2 separate regions of the Homo sapiens genome follow, and region 1 is linked to region 2. The links are contacts of gene promoters, found by promoter capture Hi-C in blood cells and fetal thymus (Javierre and others, 2016). All regions are on one chromosome and are shown on one strand. The core of a region is centred on a gene start or on the middle of the fragment in contact, and the rest is flanking DNA. Distances in the headings are between cores, read along the strand shown. Region 1 has its middle 150 kb from the start of TMEM38B. Region 2 holds the start of ZNF462 (zinc finger protein 462).

Region 1 (2,894 bases), core at 139-2,638, 1.0 Mb after region 2:
TTCACGGGATTCTTCTGCCTCACTCTCCCGAGTAGCTGGGATTACAGGCACCCGCTACTATGCCCGGCTAATATTTTGTATTTTTCAGTAGAGACAGGGTTTCACCATGTTAGCCACGCTGGTCTCGAACTCCTAACCTCAGGGGATCCTCTCACCTCGGCCTCCCAAAGTGCTGGGATTATAGGCATGAGCCATCAAGCCTGGCCCAAATTTTATAATTTTATATTTACATACATTTATATACATTTATAACTTATATTTTATATAAACTCTATCTAAAATTCTATATATTTTTAAGCAACATGCATTTTTTACAATGACAAAGGAATATTTTTAAAGGGCATTATACAGTTATTAGAACAGTGGTTTAGAACTCTGTCCCATGAAGACCTGAGGTTTGGCAGAGGTGGCTCAAGGACAAAGAAGGAAGATGAGTGAATTAACTCCCAGTGTCCCTGCCCTACTTCAGAAAAAGTTCTGCCACTTTTATCTACTTTCTATACTTGGGGTTCTATGTAAGGTTTCGGCTGGAAAATGAGCACCAGAGCCTAAAAACTGTTTGAAACACCCTCTATTAGAGAATTCATATTTGGCGTATTCCGGGTTTCTGTGATTTATAAATAAGCTTTGTTGTTTATTTAATAAACACTAAAGAGTTGGCTGCTTCTAACAATCAGAATTTATTTTATTAATTCTCTCTGAGAATGTTTGTCCTCGTTGATTGCATCACAGGTTTCTCCTGCCACCTGGTGGCAACATATGTCTATTGCAGGGGCAATTTCTAAATTTATCTGGTATCTGCTGAAGTTGCAAATACAACTCACAAGGCAATGAAGATTTGGAGAGGGCTTTTTTACATCCATTACAAGCTACAAGGCACTTCTACATCAATTATGAATTATGTCATTTGGTCTTCCCACCCTCCCTTTCAGGTGGGTATTCATATTCTCTCCCATTTTCAGGAGAGGAAAAAGTAGCTCAAAAGCTAAGTAACAAAACAAAAAAAGCTGAGTAACTTACCTCAGATGAAGGCCAGAAAATTATGGGACTCAAACTTAGTTGCAATCTTGTAATGGTTATCAGAGACTGATAGCTTTGTGACAATCTAAAGAGGTTTAAATCTGGAGAGATCGTTGGGCTAGAGGTATAAAATTGACAGTCATCAGAACAGAGGTGATATTTGAAGGCATAGACTGATCAAAACTTGAAGCCATGGGAAATGGCACAAATGGGTGTCAAACCAAGGTGTTGTGAGCTGGTGGCAGCAGATGAGAGGAAGATAAGTGTTTGGTTTACCAGGAAGCTCACATGTGGCCATCTAAAATTGCAATCTGAAGAATGGAAATCTTTGTCCATTGCATGAAAATACATAGTTCAAAGAAGAAGGAAGAAAAGTAGACATAACAGCTCCATCCACACAGTGCAGATCAAACCTGAAATTCAGTGCCCTACTTGTTATGGGAAGCAGATGTGAAAGCAAAAAAATAACAAAGCGTGAATATCCACAGCTTCTTTCCCTGCTTACCCCTTACTCCCAAAAGGATTCTTTCTTGCCAAATTATCCAACTGTCCCTAAACATTTTTTGTGAGTAGTGGGGTAATTAATAAGGAAGATAATACGAGATGAGGAAGAAGATGTCAGAATTTAAAACAGAAAGGGAAAGAACTAAGGATGCAAGGAGAAGAATGTGTGCAGAAAAAGGAAAGTGGGACAGACATGAAGAGAGCCCTTACAGGCTGGGTTTAGAAAAGAGTATTTTGGAGTTTATAGTAGGAGAGAAATGAGGCTTTGGTATTGCAGCCTTGTACAGAAGATGGGTGGATGGAGAGACAGCAAACAGAACTGGGCCCAGCCTCAGGTAGGTCATCAGGCAGAGAAGAGCAGATCATAGAAGCAAGAGATTGGAGCCTGGAGCAAGTCTCAAATCAAGGCAGATGACAAGAGGTGCAAAAAAGGGCCATAAGGCAAAACTCCTGAGAAAAAGCCCAAGACCAGCTTGATTCTGGGGCAAAATCTGTGCCATCCATGATTTACCTGCAGAAACAGAAACCAGACCCTCAGATGGATGGGTCCCTGCCCAAAGATGCCTGAGAAATAGGTCCCCATCCCACTGGATAAAGGAGAGAAGGGAGAGGCTGAATAAAGCTTCCAACACATTCAGGTGCAATTGACAAAACTCTGTCCAGGGCTAAAGGCCCAGCTCTGCCATTTTCTAACTGTTAACCTTAAAAACTCCCCTGGCCTCCAAGATTTCCACACCATCCTCTGCACACACAATGAGTGGAAGTAGCTGGGTGATGTTGAAGGCTCTTCCAGCTCTGACCCTCTGCCTCAGAGTCTCAAAGCATCCCAACTGGTTGCAGGCAAACTAGCTGTCTCCTTCCCCTAGAACAGGTTGGGACTGAGAAAAGCAGGTCTTCCTTTAAGGCTGTGGCTGTTGCTAAGAAGAGTCCCTCCCCACACCCAACCCTATCCTGCAACTTTCATCATCACCATGCGCTTCATGATCGCCTCCCACCTAGTTTGGAGACATAAACTCCAGCACACTCTTTCATGCACCAAGCTCCAAACACATCCTATTCATCTGAGTTCCCCTTGCTCAGCTCAGGGCCTTTGCCCCTACCCAGTCCTCTGTCCACATGGAATGTCACCTGCCAAAAACTCATTCTTTATGCTTCTCAGTAGATTCTATGACAGGAAGGTGCCAGCTCCTTGCTTTCTCAGGCTACCATCTCTGATTCCTTAGAATCCTAGAATTCTGGATCTGACTGGGTTTGGGGTTTCAGATTATAATCTATATGAAGGCTCAATAAATGTTTATTAAGCTACTTATTAAAAGATTTATTAATCTAAATAAGTAATAGGTACATGGATGTATAATTATAATAAATCC
Region 2 (2,822 bases), core at 155-2,654:
AATGAACGTGAGAAGGAGCTTTGTGTTTTGGAGTCTGGACTGGAACCAAAGCAGACAGCTTGCAAATGGAGGACAGGGAGATAAAGAAAGGGAAAGAGGGGCTGCTCCAATGGGGGGCGGCTGCGGCTTCCCCTCGTGCCTGGAAGGAGGGCAGACCCCTGGGAACTGCACCAGGAGTGAGACGCCCCCCCAGGCCCCTGCCTTCCTTTCTCCCTTCCTCAGAGGAGAGCCAAGCGTGTGTAATGGCTTCTCCTCTCCAGAAACCGTTGTCCTCCTCCACCAGACGCTTCTGAACCTCCAGCCTGGAGACAGCTCCTCAGCCGCTCCTGAACCTGCGCCCCCCACCCGGCCGGTGCCCCCCGCTCCTCGCCTCTCTGTTCACCAGCAGCACCGGCACCAGCAGCTGCAGCAGCCACCCCCCGACACATCCCGACCCCGCATCCCAACTTCGGGGAGAGGGAGAGAGAGAGAGAGAGAGAGAGAGAGAGAGAGAGAGAGAGAGAGAGAGAGAGAGAGAGAGAGAGAGAGAGCCAAATACCTGAGGAAGAGGGGGGCTGCCAATCCGCACGGCTTTGCCATCGGGCGGGGGACAGGCAGACAGAAGGGGGAAAGGAAGGAGAGGGACAGAGAAAGAAAGAGGTCAACCCGCTCAGGTCGGGGCCGCTCGCACGGAGCTCTCCCTCCTCTGACCCTCGCTCGCTCCCTCTGGCTCTCGGCTCAGGTCTCCGGCCTCCCGCCCTCCGCCCCCCTCTGTCCCTACTCCTGTCCCCACACTCGGAGCATCCGTCCTAAGCCTCCAGCTCTCTTCTCACTCATCTTTCATTTTCTCTTCTCTTCATAGAACTACACGAAATTAATTAAGCCACCGCGCTCACTCCCCCCAGCAGGAGCAGCAGCCAGCAGGAAAAGCACAGCCACCTCCACTGCCACCACTACCACCTTCTCCTCCTCTTCCTCCTCCTCCTCTTCCTCCCTCGCTTCTCCTCCTCCTCTTCCTCCTCCCCCTCCTGCTCTCCCTCCTCCCCCTCCTCCTCTTCTCTCTCGCTTCTTCTCCTCTTCCAACAGCCAGTCCATGCAGGGGACTTCCTCTCCTCCCCGCTCCTCCAACCCTCCTTGGCCGAATGAATGAGCGCGTTTGTGCCTCCACCACCCCGCGCTCTCTTCCCCGGAGCACTCGGACCACCCCGAGGTGGTTGTTAATTGCAGTAACTTACAGAAGAAGCGTCCCGGCGCCGGGAGGTGCTTCGGGTTCTCCAGCCCCACCGCCTCCTTATCCTCTTTCTCTTTCTCCTCTTCCTGCTCGGGTTATTGTTGTGGAAGTTGTTTGGGAGTCTCATGTGCTTCTGCCGGGTCTCAGCAATGGAGGATCGCCATCTTCCCTGCCTTCCTCGGCTCCTCAGACTCGCTGCAGCTGCAGATGACCTGAGATATCCGTCTCTCTCCCTCTCTCTCTCTCTCCCTCCCTCCCTCTCCCTCTCACTCTCTCTCTCCCCTCTCTCTCCTCTTCTCTCTCCTCTCCTCCCTCTCCCTCGCGCGCTCTCTCTCTCTCCCTCCCTCTGTGTCTCTCTCTGAATAATGAGCAACCAGGGGGAGAGAGAAAGCAAGACAGAAAGAGAGAAGGAAGACAATCTTCTCCTGCCACACAAAACGCCGGAGCACCAGGGGGTGCGCGAAGCCTTTCTAATAACAACAACAACGTGCAGCAGAGAGGAAGGAAAAAAAGAAAGAAAGAAAGAAATGAGGAAAAAGGCTAGGGGAAAAAAGAGGAAGAATTATCCAAGAGCTCGAGAAGAGCAGAAGGAGAAGCTGGAGGAGATGCTGAGGCTGCTGCTGCTGTTCCCCCTCCCCCCTGCTGAACCCCAGAAGGAGGCAAGGTGGTTGCAAAGTTAAGGCTGGGACATTGTCTTTGTCACTCAGAGCCAGGCCAGTGAGATGCAAGAGGAGGAGGTGGCGGCGGCAGAGGAGGAGGAGGTGGTGGTGGAGGAGGGGGAGGAAGAGGAGGAGAAGGAGGCAAAGGAGAAGGAGGCAAAGGAGAAGGAGAAGGGGAAGAGGGAGATGAGATGATGAATAAAGACCTGCGGAGAAGGCGGTGCGAGGAGCGCGGCCGCCGGGCCGAGGCGTGCGCGCTCGCGTCCCGGTGGCGCCCGGCAGCCCTGGCCCGCAGAGGAAGCCCCCGGTGAGGACCCTGCCCGGCAGCTCATAGCGCTCCCAACGTCAGCCCTGCCCGAGGCGCCGAGCCCGAGCCCCAGAGGGTCCCTTACTTGCATCCATCTAGAGGCCAACCTTTGCAAAGAACATACGTGGGGAACTGGAGGTTGCAAGTATAAACCCAGATCAACCACGTGGGGCTTTTTAATCCCTTTCCAGCTTGCGGTGTGAGTATTTCCAGTGAAAAGCTCAAATTGTCCATTACTGGCACGTATTTTGAAGTCTTCTCTCCTGAAATAAAGGCTCATTGTGCGTTTTATTTCTTTCCTGATATGGAAGGTGGGGGGGTGGAGGAGGAAAAGAGCCCATCATTCCGAGCTTCGGAACCACCACTTTCTTTTCCTAACTTGTGAAATGTTTTGACTGCGCACCAAAAGAAAAAAAGAACGCCTGCTTAAATAACTTTACACCCTCCAGCCCCGCGTTGTTTGCACTTTCTGGCTGATCATCTAAAGGCTCGGAAAGTAACAATCAGCGCTCTTAATGATAAGGTGTCATGGTGTTGAAGACACGCGAGCCAAGATGAAGCTTTCACACCTTGAATTTTTATTTAGTGTAATCTCTCCCGTATCATTCTGAACTATCTCTTTTGCAAAGGAGTGGTTCCCCCCCTC

What was found. The method cuts DNA at HindIII sites, captures the fragments that hold promoters and counts their contacts. A CHiCAGO score of 5 or more calls a contact.
Region 1: a fragment that was not itself captured here is called in contact with the fragment with the promoter of ZNF462 in region 2 in 2 of 17 cell types (endothelial precursors and megakaryocytes); the score reaches 10.8 in endothelial precursors.

Annotation. Positions count from the first base shown.
Region 1 is chr9:105,840,085-105,842,978 of GRCh38, reverse strand. No RefSeq gene overlaps it. Among named protein-coding and RNA genes, the nearest start is that of TMEM38B, 150 kb to the right of the region's middle. The HindIII fragment of the contact is 1,521 bases long and covers 628-2,148 here.
Region 2 is chr9:106,861,748-106,864,569 of GRCh38, reverse strand. ZNF462 (zinc finger protein 462) reads right to left here and starts at 1,404. Exons shown (of 13, transcript NM_021224.6): 1 at 1,215-1,404. The HindIII fragment of the contact is 9,383 bases long and covers 1-2,738 here.